3 separate regions of the Homo sapiens genome follow, and regions 2 and 3 are each linked to region 1. Evidence: promoter capture Hi-C in 16 types of primary human blood cells and fetal thymus (Javierre and others, 2016). All regions are on one chromosome and are shown on one strand. The core of a region is centred on a gene start or on the middle of the fragment in contact, and the rest is flanking DNA. Distances in the headings are between cores, read along the strand shown.

Region 1 (4,748 bases), core at 1,103-3,602:
ACAAGGACGTGACTGCAGAGGCCTAGAAGCATAACGCGTTTGTTAGGCTCTCCCAAGCTGTGGCTACCATAGGAAAGTGCTGGATCTGTCATCCCAGACCCCATTATGTCACAGGCTACAGCAACCTTCTCGTCCTGCCAGTAGTAAACTCTACCAGTATTATAGTGGCACAGTGAATATCAACAGAACCTGAGCCCTGGCTTACTGAGTGAGGATCTAACATCTGCCACATGGGAGGGAGGTAGACTTAATTGGCCTAAGGTGGCAAAACATCATGACAACTAATAAGATCTTGGTGGGCTGGCACCTTTGACCTATTATGTTCTTACCTGGATCACTGGATCCTGGACTAGGTTGATGCTCCAGACAGACCTGATCAACCTGTTTGTGATGTAGTCCTCCTGGGCCTAGTAAAATGTATTCTGGCTATGGCTCAACAATGTTGTACTGACATTGTGTCTGTGAAGGTGTTACATCGATCTGATAAGACAAACTTCCGCCTCCAGATACTAGGAGGTTGGTGGGCATATGAAACGGACTAGCTTTGCTAAAGGGTATAATCTGGGTTAAGGGCATAGACTGCAGGACAGTTCTCCAGGTGGCCTTGGACCAATTTAGTTCTCTCTCCTTTCTCACTTGTGGTTCTCTAGGATAACTGTAGAATGTGCTGGGAATGTAGCATCCTGTGATAGAGAGAGACTAACCAGACCAGCCAGGGCCCTGTTCCAGTGTCTCCCAGAAATAGAATGTCCTTCATATATATATGTATATATATATATATATATTTTTTTTAATTTTAATTTTTATTTATTTATTTTTTTTTGAGAGGGAGTTTCACTCTTGTTGCCCAGGCTGGAGTGCAATGGCGCGATCTCAGCTCATGGCAACCTCTGCCTCCCCAGATCACGTGATTCTCCTGCCTCAGTCTCTTGAGTAGCTGGCATTACAGGCATGAGCCACCATGCCTGGCTAATTTTTTATTTTTTAGTAGAGACGGGGTTTCTCCACGTTGGTCAAGCTGGTCTCGAACTCCCGACTTCAGGTGATCTGCCTGCCTCGGCCTCCCAAAGTGTTGGGATTACAGGCGTGAGCCACCGCACCTGGCCGAATGTTCTTCATGTTTTAGCCCAGTGTGTCATGCCTCCCCACCTCTTCCCCCTGCCCCTGCCCCCTGCAATTAGGCTGTTGCATTGCCACAAAGAAATACCTGAGACTGGGTAATTTATATAGAAACGAGGTTAAATTGGCTCATGTTTCTGCAGGCTGTACAGGAAGCATAGTACCACCATCTGTTTGGCCTCTGAGGAGGCCCCAGGGAGCTTTTACTATTGGCAGAAGGAGAAGAGAGAGCAGGCACATCACATGGTGAGAACTGGACCAAGAGACTGTGTTGGAGGGTGCCACACACTTCTAAATAACCACATCTTCCTGGCACTCACTCACTATTGCAAAGACACCAAGCCATGAGAGATCCACTTCCATGACCCAAACACCTCCCATCAGGTCCCACCTCCAAAAATGGGGACAATTCAACATGAGATTTGGCAGGGACATATATTCAATCCATCCCTGGACCCCCAAATCTCATGTCCTTCTGACATTGCAAAACATAATCATGCCTTCCCAATCACCTACCAAAATTTTAACTTGTTCCAGCATTAAACTCAAAAGTCCAAAGTGTCACAGGAGACATGGCCCAGAAAAAGAACTAATCCCAGCTCCTTGGGAGGCCAAGGCGGGTGGATCACGAGGTCAGGTGATCCAGACCATCCTAGCTAACACGGTGAAACCCCGTCTCTACTAAAAATACAAAAAATTAGCGGGGCGTGGTGGCGGGTGCCTGTAGTCCCAGCTGCTCGGGAGGCTGAGGCAGGAGAATGGCTTGAACCGGGACGCGGAGGTTGCAGTGAGCCGAGATTGCACCACAGCACTCCAGCCTGAGTAACAGAGCAAGACTCTGTCTCAAAAACCAAAGAAATCTCCAGCAGCGGAAATGTATGTAGAACTCATTTTGGTCAGTACTTTTCCTTGTACAGGAAGAAACTGAGGTCGCCCGGTGCAACGCCCAACACAGGTTAAGACAAAGCCGAGACTCAAAACCAGACCCCAGCTTCCGGTCCCAGCCCATAGATTCTTCCATTTCCTTCGCCGGAAGTGATATACAGCCCCTGTTCTCCTTCGCGTCCGTTGACGGGACCCAGGTTGGGGAGGCGGAAGAATGGGCGGGACCATGGGCGGAAGCACCCCTCCTACCAGGACCCGGAAACAGATGGCCACCCCGAGCCGGCCTATCCGGAAACTGGCTCGAAGAAGACGGGGATTGGCCATCGCTTCCGGAAGTTGTGAGCTTTGTTTCGGAGCGGGAGCTCTTCCGAGACGCACTGGGGGCCGGATGGTGAGTTTTCCTTGCGCTCTAACGGGCAGGCTCGGGAGCGGGAGGGTCCGGGCAGTTTTAGTAGTGTCTTTGGGACAACGGCTGCGGTTGGTATTTCTCAAGCGGCAACGAGGCCAGCCCCTGGGAATGCAGCACGAGAATGATAGAGTCAGGCTGTCCCCTCAAGAAATAGTTTAGTGAGGAGACATGCAGCGGATAGGCGCAGGATTCTTCAGAGTTGTGATTGGGCCCAAAAAGGAGCTAGTCCTCAGACTAAAAAGAGCCGTAGTGCCGGGGTTCTGGGCGCTGTAGTAAATGGACTCCAAATGGAGTTGAAGGGAGGGAGGAGTGCGTCAGGCGGAGATGAAAGGAGAGAGGGAACTACCTGTCCGATAGGGCAGAATCGGGGAGAAAGGTTGGTGACTTGAGCTTAGAGAAGGCCATTGCGGCGGTAGCAGAAGAGGAGAGGCAGGGACCAGATCGTAGAGTGTGGAACACCGTGACACAAAGTTGGGGCTTTATCATAAGAGCAGCAGAATGACAAGATCTGATGTACATTTTGAAAGGATCACTGTAACTGCTGGTGACGACTGGATTATAGGAGGGCAGGAATTGTGAGAAACCACTCAGAAGGCTACTGCTGTAGATGAGCGATGTGACCTAGCGTATGGGAGAGAAGTGGACGAATCAAAAGTATATTTAGCAGGTGAAAATTCAGGACTTTACGGATTAGATATAGGATTTGAGTGACAGGTTGGGTCTCAACGATGATTCCAAGTTTCTGACCTGAGTGAGTAAATTACGCTAAACAAGAACAAACTATTTTGAAGTTTTCTAAGGGTTCTTCCCCCCACTCAGTGTTAAAAAGCACGTTTTTTTCCTTTCTTATTATGTGTACTCATGTTTTGTGTGCTTACTGTAGAAAATTCAGAACATACATAACAAAATATTTTCTTTTATATAAAGGACAATAAAAATCACCTCATAACCTCACTACCCAAGATGGTCATATTTTAGTGTTTCTTTCATGTATTTTAAAAAAATATGTGTATCTTTTTATATAATTGGGATCCTACTGATTATGTCTTTCTGTATCCATTTTTTCCACCTTAGCATGACTAATGATTGAACTGTGTGCCAGGATATCGTTCACAAATATATTTTTTTCTGTTTGTAACAGAAAAAGTCAAATTAATTCTAAATAAGAGATAACATTAACTTTTTGGTGTATTTTCTTTTTAATATTTGTTTAAAAGCCTTTTAAAAAACCCACATTTTGGCCAGTTTGTGTTTTGTTTTCCATTCAGATGTTTTTACTTACTTAATGTTATTTATTGCCGTTTTTACACACCGTCAAGACCACATGTTTTAATGGTTGTTAAATAACAACTAATCCCATCATTAGCTAGATAGGTTATTTGCAACTTTTTACTGTTAAAATAATGAGAGGAACATCTTATATAATTATTGGATTCCTAATGACTTCCATCAGAAAGAGTTCTAGAAATATAATCTGCCAGGTAAAAGGATAAAATGAGTCTCAAATTGCCCCACCAAAATATTTTATTAAGAATTTGATAGAAATTGTTTTAAAGAAATTTTTGCAATACATAGTTTTTCCATTCAAAGATATGGTCATGTCTTTCTGGTTATTCAAGTTGTCTTTTATGTTTCTTTTATGTCTTTATATATAATAACCTATCCTTTTCTTGTTAAGCTTATGTCCAAGAAAGGAGCGACATTGATTATTTAATAATTGTACCCTCTCTGCTTAATTTCCATGCGTGGAATGAATATCTTTGGGTCAAGTGGGATACTTTATCCTTTTTTTTTATTTTTATACTTTAAGTTCTAGGGTACATGTGCACAACGTGCAGGTTTGTTACATCTGTATACATGTGCCATGTTTGTATGCTGCACCCATTAACTCATCGTTTACATTAGGTATATCTCCTAATGCTATCCCTTCCCCCTATTCTTTTTTTTTTTTGAGACGGAGTTTCACTCTTGTTGCCCAGGCTGGGGTGCAATGGTATGATCTCGGCTCACTGCAACCTCTGCCTCCCAGGTTCAAGCGATTCTTCTGCCTCAGCCTCCTGAGTAGCTGGGATTACAGGCATGCGCCACCATGCCTGGCTAATTTTTTTGGCATTTTTAGTAGAGACGGGGTTTCTCCATGTTGGTCAGGCTGGTCTCGAACTCCCAACCTCAGGTGATCTGCTCGCCTCGGCCTCCCAGAGTGCTGAGATTACAGGCATGAGCCACTGCACCCAGCCTACTTTATTCTTTAAAATTATTTTCTTCCTTAATATTTATGTCTAGGCCTTCCTAAAATATAAATAAAATGATGAGATCAGGAAGTTAAAAAGACTAA
Region 2 (4,748 bases), core at 1,946-4,445, 500 kb after region 1:
CAAACACCCCCTCAGGAGCCTCCTTTCCTGCACACAGGCCTGAGGAACTCTGTAGACTTACCTCTGCCATCTACAATAAGCTTGTCCATGCCACGGGGACCCAGGGTAGTTCTTACAGCCTCAGCAATCACCTGGCAGGCACTGATGTTACTCACAAGCTGGGGGATGCCTTGGGAGCTATCAGTCCCCTCTTTCAATAGGATAACTGGTGTGGGCTAGAAAAGAAAGAAATTAACTGCTTTTAATAATCATCTATTATAATGAGACTGGCAGGGGAAAGGGGAAAATGCTCCCATCTCTCCCTTAACAGAATTATCTAGAGGTCTTCTTAAACCACATTCCCCCAACTGTCTACCACATCCATTCCCCAACCAGCCTCTACCTCCAGAGACACTATCAAATTTAGCCTACCCTGCAGGTATGCTAGACAGGAAAATGGTTTGAGAAGCACTGACCTAATCTAAAAGAAAAAATCATGAGTTCTCCAGTACCCAGCTGAATGACCATGGCCTTTTCAACTTCTGACCTTACTCCCTGTGCTGAGGAATTGGGTCACAACACAGGAGGAAGAGGCAGACCCTGCTAAGTGTTCATTCCGCAGCAAAACATCCACTTGTCTGTGTTACAGCTCAATCTTAGAGAAGCAGATGGGACACTGATGCAAAATGCAAGATGCCAAGAGCTTGAGGTGTTGTCCTAGAGATGCCTAGGCAGTCAGCTTTATGTAACAGTGATGTTCAGCTGCAGTGTAGGAAAACAGGCAGAGAAACAAACAGCACCTTTGCCCTGTTTTGAAAAATGATGGCAAATCTAATTCATACAGCAATGTTTCCATCTCTCATGCTGGCTGAATAAAGCTTCTGTGTGACTAATTTCCAATCAGATACCCCAAAGAAGTTTTCCTCTTTCTATATTGCATTGGTCTCCAGAACATTCCCTATCCCCGTAAGGGCTTCATTTGCAGACCTGCTTTAGAAACTGAGAAACAGGGATACTTGCTTGTTTTAAAGGGCCCGCTCAGATATCTTTGCTCTAGTGACCACCATTATTAGCAGAGAGAGCAATTTCTCAGCTTAGCAAACCAGACTACTTTCTCTCCACATTCAAATCTGAGCCTTCAGAGATAAGCCCACGAACTAGATCCAGTCTTCTCAAGTGTTTCTGGCTAATTTTGTGTGTGACACAGAATGTAGTAAGGATAAATACTATTTCAAAACTTTTATTGTGTTAAATTTGTTACTAGGCTATGATTAAAAATGTATTTCTTACTGTGGAATGCAATAAAAAGTTTGAAAGCCATCACCTAGTCCTTAGAGGTACGTGGATGTCTGAGCAAGGAAGGCACAGGAAAGCACAGAGCTTTCCCAACCTAACAATGAGGAGTGAGGAATTCCTGCCAAAGACAGAGTCTTGCCACTCATGAGGCTGATTCCTTATTAACTGGTCAATTCCTTAAAAAGTTCAACTCTTTTGGCCAGCGCAGCTGGAGGGTAGTAAGCAAGAGGAAGACTGGAATAAAGCTGAAGAGGCAGGCAGGAACCAGATCACATACACACTCGTAGACACACTATGGTGAGGAGTTCAGATTTCATTCCTAAAAAGGAAAGCCCTGGGAAGCTTTCAGCAGAGGAATGGCATACTGTGATTTACATAAAAAACAAAAACCACTGTAGAAAAAAGAGGATCACTTGAGCTCATGGAGTTCAAGACCAGCCTGGGGAACATGGCAAGACCCTGTCTCTACAAAAAGAAAACGAAAAATACCCAATAAACTCTACGGAATAAGAGAGTGGGAGTAATTTAATATATTATTCATTTTTTAATATATATTTCTAAGAGACAGGGTCTTGCTCCACCACCCATGCTGGAGTGCAGTGGTGAGATCATAGCTTACTATAAGCTCAAGCCTCCTGAGTAGCTGGACCGCAATGCATGAGGTACCACACCTGGCTAATTTTTTAAATTTGTATTTAAAAAATGTTGCCCAGGCTGGTCTCCAACTCCTGGCCTCTAACAACCCTCCTGCCTCAGCCTTCTGAAGTGCTAGGATTACAGGCATGAGGCACCATGCCAGGCCCTCATTAAATTTTTTTAAATGCTTGTCAAATAATCATACATTACTCCTTTTATTTTTTATTTTAAAAAGAATGCTTGTCATGTAAACCCCTACATTTGGGATCAGGCGTCAACTGAAGGGAAAATTCCTTCCTTTTGCTGGAGTGTCCCAGGTCTGGTGGCAAGAAATGGCTTCTCTATACTCCCAGCATTCTTTCTGGCTCTTCAGCTGGCCCAGTCCCTGGCACCTTCTGTAAGGGAAAGATGTGTGTCCTGAAAGGCCCTACCATCTCCCAGTCTTGCTAAATCATTCCTTATGGCAGCCCCAAGTCTTCTCTGGTCCACCCCTGCCACGGATGGAGTCTTACACTTTAAATCAAAAACTAACATGAGTCTCAATCACTTCCTATCACCTTCAACAGGTTCTTTCACCTCAACAGGTTAACTTACCCAATGCTTGTGTATACTTTTTCTCACCTCAACCTGCAAAGTGTACCCCCATCTAAAATAGTCACTCTGCCATCTTCTACCAAAACCACTTTCTCACCACCAGGCCACCAATTCCTCAGAGCTCCAATTCTTCCAAGAAGTTTTCTCTACAGTAATAAACAAGGGCATCTGAATAGGGGAATCCCATAACTTTCTCTTCACTTGCCCTTGCTCGCAACTTTTTATCACCATCCAGCTTAAGTACAAGCTTTCCAAAGACAAGGACCAAAATAACCTTAATTTGAAGAGTGCCAAGATTTGGCCACACATGAAGCAATATTCAGCAGCTTTTGGGGCTGAAAATCCAACTGCTACTTGTAAGTGCTTGACAGCACTGGCTTCTTGACTTTTGGGGAGAAAAGCACTGGCACTACAGTAACACTACATTTACTGAGAGTTCTTAAGCACAATGCAAGAAGAGCTTGGAAGCAGCTAACCACAGATTCCCCAGGTTCCCTATGCTTTGCAGGCCCTGAAGAAACAGCAGGCTGGGTAGAGAGCATCTATGGGGTGGAAAAGGTGGCAGAGCTGGATTGAGTCAAGCCAAGACAAGCAGGATAGGTCCTCTTCTAACAGTTCCCCAGCAGCAGGCACTGTATGCAAAGTCCAGTTTCCATCCCTTAGTTACTTTCAACCTCGCTCCTTTTTTTTATTCCTCTAATAAATAAGAAACAAGGTCGGGTGCGGTGGCTCACGCCTGTAATCCCAGCACTTTGGGAGTCCAAGGTGGGTGAATCACAAGGTCAGGTGTTCGAGACCAGCCTGGTCAACACGGTGAAACCCCGTCTCTACTAAAAATACAAAAATTAGCCAGGCGTGGTGGCGTATGCCTGTAATCCCAGCTACTTGGGAGGCTGAGGCAGGAGAATTGCTTGAACCTGGGAATGGAGGTTGCAGTGAGCCAAGATGGTGCCACTGCACTCCAGCCTGGGCAACAGAGCAAGACTCCATCTCGGGAAAAAAAAAAAAGAAAAAGAAACAAGAGCAGACTCCAGTAATTGGCCACAGGTATAATGGAAGGTTTTGGAATTTCAGCTTACTGATCTTCCTCTTCATCCTACTTTAAAACTTTCACTAAGCATCATTAAGCTTAATGGCTTACAAAACAAGTGTGTCTATGCCAAGGCACACAGCGCTCAACGCCACAAAGGCAAGGACATACATTTTATGCAAGCTGTACCAACATCACAGGACTGAGGTTTCAGGGGACCTTTTCACCTCTCTTTCGATTACAGAAGTATTCTAGAATATCAGGGGCCAATTTGAAGACAGGAAGACTCTTGGAGATAGAAGTTTCACATTCCAAAAATGGGGAGGAGATATCAAGAGCCAATACAGCAGGGAAACGTCAATCTGACAGAGGAGGGGTCAGTTCAGGGAAAATCCAAGTGTGATGATCTAGAGCCCACTGGTGAAGTTTTATCACGGCAGAGAATGGCGGTTCTGATCCCTAGCTGTGTGAATGTGAACCAAAGCTCTTACGGAAGCCCTGGCAGCGGGATGGACTGATTTCAGAGATGAAAGGAAGCAAACAACCACCTCGCCGAGTAAGAGCTAACATTGCTGAGTGCTTACTATCTGCTAGGCACACTGACAAACTGAGAACCAGAAATTAAATAACATGCTCAAAGTCACACAGCTAGTAAGTGGCAGAGCTAAGTTACAAACCTAGGCATTCAGTGTAGCTCCAGAGGCCTTACTCTCAACTGCTGTACTATGCTGCCTCTGCACAGAAGATGAAGACGACTTCAAGAATGAGCAATGCTAGAGACATAAAGGGGAGAGGAAGTACTGTTAAATGCTAATTTCCTTCTACCTTGGGTACAAGCGGGATTCATAGGGCATTTGGTAGAACACCTAAAAGGTGTCTGCGTCCCTAACAGGACAGAGAAAAGCTGCAGGAAGCAGGAAAAGAGCAGAAGATAGAGTCGGACAGGCCAAAATGAATAAGTGAACTGCCAAGTGCACAGAAAGCAGTATCTCAGTCAGGGTCAAACACCACCTCGGAAGCTGGCCCTACTCAATAACAACCCAGGAGATACCATCGAGGCTTGGGACCCACGGAAAGTATCTAAAGCTCCGAGAGACAGAGAAAAGAAGTGTGGGAAGTAGGGCTACAAGGAGCACTTTAGGTGGCTCCAGGACTCACAGCAACTCCCTCGCCCCAAATTTCAAGAAAACGAGACCCAGAGTTAGGTAGCCAA
Region 3 (4,748 bases), core at 1,675-4,174, 390 kb before region 1:
CTATGTTGCCCAGGCTGGTCAAATTTCTGCCCTCAAGTGATCTTCCTGCCTTGGCCTCCCAAAGTCTTGGGATTACAAGCATAAGCCCAGCCTTTTTTTTTTTCTAATAGTCTTTATTATTTTTTTATAGTCTTTATTGTTTTAGAACAGTTCTACATTTACAGAAAAATTTTGAAGATAGTGGAGTTCCCATATGTCCCACATCCAGTTTCCCTGATTATTCACATCTTACGTTAGTATGGGGCATTTGTTACAATGAATTTGTTACACTATTATTAAGGAGAGCCCATACTTTATTCAAGTTTCCTTAGTCTTCCCTTAATGTCTTTTTTCTAGGTAGCCCCTCCATGAAACCAGATTACATTTAGTCATCATGTCCCCTTGGCTCCTCCTGGCGGTGGCAGTTTCTCCGATTTTCCTTATTTTTGGTAAGCCTTAGTCCATATAAATATATTCTGGGGGAATTATAGATGGGTTTGACAGAAAGCAATTTTAAAAACAAAAACTACAAAAGAAGAAAGTCACAATCAATTGATTAGTTGAAAGTTACTCTATTCCAAACATCTTGGCAAACATTAAATAATCACATTTCAGAAACTACACCAAGCGAAAAAAAAAATGCCTTGAGTTATGGACATCAGGAAGCAGTAGCTTTGCACAAAAAGGATGGGTTTAAGGAGAACACTGTTTGAGGTGAGGTTTGGTAGATTTACAAACAAGGTTAGAGAAGGCTTCTATACACACATTATTAACCTGTGACATTAAATATATCTCTAAAACTTTATAACTTTTCCTTTTATTTAACAGAACTGTTGGAAGAAAACAAACAATATTTTGACTAGAAATGGAAATTCCTGATGCTTTGGGAATTGTTTCAGTACTTTTTCTAATACTTTAGGCATTGACTAGAAGAACTGAGACTAGAAAATACTCTTGCCTGTTTAGTCAGTATCACGTATCTTCATCTGTTTGTTGTCGCTGCTGAAGCACACACTTAAAATAATCATCATACATTTATGCACACAACCCCTTCTCCCGTGCCCTATACAAACCTATTAAGCTATTTTTCCGAATCAAATTTGCACAACTTTAAAGAAAAAAAAAAAACCTCACAGAATAATGTGTTTTTCAAGGCAGGCATTTTAAAAGCTAATCCCAACTTGCCCCGTTTTAGGCTTTTACAGTGTTTAACTTGCTTTCTTGGGTAGTTAGTCTGGAAATGAGTTCATCATCTGATATAGGATGGCTGGATTTTAATATTTTCTGTCTCCAATTCGTTTGGTTAAATGCCTAAAGCTGGTAGTCTACTAGTGCTGAAGGAAGAGGGGAAGCATTTATGGCTCATTAGAACCAATCCCCATGGTTTCCAGGTCAGCTGATTTTCTCACTACAATACTTAACAGCAAGATGAGAGGCTTTATTAACATCATGTCAATAAAGCCATTAATAATTCAGAAGAAATTTTAATTACAAACTTAAAAGAATTACATAGTTGTAAATTAGTCTGTCACTAAGTAAAGACTACTACATTTCACTTTGGGAGACCTTGTAAAATGTAAGCTAACTCATTGCTGGAACCTTGAAACAGAGGTCATCCGGATCAACAAGCATGAGTCCGTCCCTTCTGCCAGCTTCTGATCCCCTCATTTGAGTTTATGAGATGAGCCAATAATGAATGTAGAGGCAAGCAGCTCATTTTTCTACCTAAAACTAAGTCTCAGCCTGACACTTTTCTTCTGACCCAGTTACAGCTGCTTCTCTGGTGTGTGCTTCAATCCTCTTCACTGGGCACCATTAAACACTGGACTTGGTAGCTGTCTATGCATGTGACCAATTTCACTATCCATCTTCTGGCTTCAGTGCCAATTTTAAGAATGCTAATTCCTACGTGGCCAGATTTCTATAAAGATGGCAAATTATTTTATTCTGGCTAAAATTAATCATATTATTAATATTTTCTAAAGTTAGCGTTTACATTTACTGCTTTAAAAAAATTCCAGGCTGGGTGTGGTGGCTCACGCCTGTAATCCCAGCACTTTGGGAGGCCGAGGCAGGTGGATCATGAGGTCAGGAGATTGAGACCATGCTGGCTAACACGATGAAACCCCGTCTCTACTGAAAAAATACAAAAAATTAGCCGGGAGTGGTGGCGGGTGCCTGTAGTCCCAGCTACGTGGGACACTGAGGCAGGAGAATGGTGTGAACCCGGGAGGCGGAGCTTGCAGTGAGCAGAGATGCACCACTGCACTCCAGCCTGGGTGACAGAGCAAGACTCCATCTCAAAAAAAAAAAAAAAAAAAATCCAGCAAATATAAAATTTAGGCCTAAAAGATGCCAATGATTTAAAACTCTACACAGATCTAAGATCAATGCCTATGTATGAGTGTAGCTACTGCCACGAGGCATTCTACTCATAGCCAGCCTAGGAAAGTGTGAGCTGAATACAGGTCCTATGCCAAAAAACCTCTGCCTGAAACAGAACTACAGACGTGAGAAGCATTAATAGATGTGCACTGTATTTATATAAGCTTCTCTTTTCAGCATTAAAACAGCTGATCTACTGTGTCAATCTGGTAGAGATCAGTTGGTGCCATATATAAAAACCAACAGGTTAACTGACCAAATTTCTCCAGATTTCAATTGGCTCTATGGGATCAAATAGACATGATAGGTTAATTATGATGAAAACAATAATCTTAACCATGTTTAAGAAAAAATACAAAATTTTAGTGCAAGTACTTATTTACTTCTGTACTCAAAAAGGGTGAGAATCCCAGCTACTCAGAGGCTGAGGTGGTTGGATCACCTGAGCCACAAGTTCAAGACCAGCCTGGACAATATAGCAAGACCCTTGCCTCAAAGAAAATTGAGATTTTAAATTTTGTTTGTGATTTTCTCTAAGTGAATAATGGTAAAATTTAACAAACTAGCATAGTTCAATTTACTGAGCTACAAAGTATAACATTCAGCTGGGCATGGTGGCTCATGCCTGTAATCCCAACACTTTAGGGGGCTGAGGCAAGAGGATTGCTTGAGGCTAGGGGTTTGAGACCAGCCTGGGCAACACAGTGAGACCTCATCTCTATAAAGTTAAAAAAAAAAAAAATTTTAGCATACTTTAATTTATGGCAGGTACTATATATGAGAGCTGAAGTCTTCTGTACCTCCACAATGCCACACTTCTTATTCACAAAGGATGGTTAGAAGCTAGAATACAACTTTTTTGTTATTTATAAATGCTGCCAAAAGAAGAAATGTTTATGGAATTTCAAATGACACAGTTGTAAATTGGCAGTTAGCAGCTTTCCATGTAAAGCTTCATCTCAGCATGAAAAACTTGATTATAGTCAAAACTAGCCAAGGAAAACTCAAGTGTATGATGCCTAAAAGTCTACTGTGTGGCTGTCTGAAAACGTGTATTGTACCATGGTGTTATCCATCCAGCCAGGCTTTTGAAGCTATCTGTAAGAGTCATGTTGTAGGGAGAAACAGCGCCACAATTAAAAAATAATCCAAGTGAGGCCAGGTGCAGTGGCTCACGCCTGTAATCCCAGCACTTTGGGAGGCCGAGGCAGGCAGATCACCTGAGGTCAGGAGTTCGAGAACAGCCTGGCCAACATGGTGAAACCCTGTCTCTGCAGGTGGCAGGCACCTGTAATCCCAGCTACTCAGGAGGCTGAGGGAGGAGAATCACTTGAACCCAGGAGGCAGAGGATGCAGTGAGCTGAGATTGCACCATTGCACCCCAGCCTGGGTGACAGAGTGAGACTCCATCTCAAAAAAAAAAAGAAAAAAAATTCCGAGTAGTATTAAATATACATGTTAGCACCTTTTTTTTTTTTTTAGTTTTTAACCTTTTTCTTTTTTTTTTTTAGTATTTATTGATCATTCTTGGGTGTTTCTCGGAGAGGGGGATTTGGCAGGGTCATAGGACAATAGTGGAGGGAAGGTCAGCAGATAAACATGTGAACAAGGGTCTCTGGTTTTCCTAGACAGAGGACCCTGCGGCCTTCCGCAGTGTTTGTGTCCCTGGGTACTTGAGATTAGGGAGTGGTGATGACTCTTAACGAGCATGCTGCCTTCAAGCATCTATTTAACAAAGCACATCTTGCACCGCCCTTAATCCATTTAACCCTGAGTGGACACAGCACATGTTTCAGAGAGCACGGGGTTGGGGGTAAGGTTATAGATTAACAGCATCCCAAGGCAGAAGAATTTTTCTTAGTACAGAACAAAATGGAGTCTCCCATGTCTACTTTCTACACCTACACAGTAACAATCTGATCTCTTTTCCCCACATTTCCCCCTTTTCTATTCAACAAAACCGCCATCGTCATCGTGGCCAGTTCTCAATGAGCTGTTGGGTACACCTCCCAGACGGGGTGGCGGCTGGGCAGAGGCGCCCCCCACCTCCCAGACGGGGCAGTGGCCGGGCAGAGGCGACCCTCACCTCCCGGACGGGGCGGCTGGCCGGGCAGGGGCTGACCCCCCACCTCCCTCCCAGACGGGGTGGCTGGCTGGGCGGGGGCTGACCCCCCACCTCCCTCCCGGACGGGGCGGCTGGCTGGGCGGGGGCTGACCCCCCCACCTCCCTCCCGGATGGGGTGGCTGGCCGGGCGGGGGCTGCCCCCCACCTCCCTCCCAGATGGGGCGGCTGGCGGGGCGGGGGCTGCCCCCCACCTCCTGGACCGGGCAGCTGCTGGGCGGAGGGGCTCCTCACTTCGCAGATGGGGCGGCTGCCGGGCGGA

Evidence for each region. The method cuts DNA at HindIII sites, captures the fragments that hold promoters and counts their contacts. A CHiCAGO score of 5 or more calls a contact.
Region 2: a fragment that was not itself captured here is called in contact with the fragment with the promoter of TPRKB in region 1 in 1 of 17 cell types (total CD8 T cells); the score reaches 5.2 in total CD8 T cells.
Region 3: a contact is called between a fragment that was not itself captured here and the fragment with the promoter of TPRKB in region 1, in 1 of 17 cell types (fetal thymus). The highest score is 5.3, in fetal thymus.

The regions. Positions count from the first base shown.
Region 1 is chr2:73,734,949-73,739,696 of GRCh38, reverse strand. TPRKB (TP53RK binding protein) reads left to right here and starts at 2,352. Exons shown (of 5, transcript NM_016058.5): 1 at 2,352-2,395. RefSeq lists enhancers at 1,911-1,970, 2,011-2,090. The HindIII fragment of the contact is 15,665 bases long and covers 1-4,093 here.
Region 2 is chr2:73,235,110-73,239,857 of GRCh38, reverse strand. It overlaps CCT7 (chaperonin containing TCP1 subunit 7), which reads right to left. Exons shown (of 12, transcript NM_006429.4): 2 at 62-215. Among named protein-coding and RNA genes, the nearest start is that of CCT7, 3.2 kb to the right of the region's middle. The HindIII fragment of the contact is 881 bases long and covers 2,755-3,635 here.
Region 3 is chr2:74,124,054-74,128,801 of GRCh38, reverse strand. It overlaps a transcript of TET3 not described here. Among named protein-coding and RNA genes, the nearest start is that of BOLA3, 21 kb to the left of the region's middle. RefSeq lists an enhancer at 4,527-4,748. The HindIII fragment of the contact is 788 bases long and covers 2,531-3,318 here.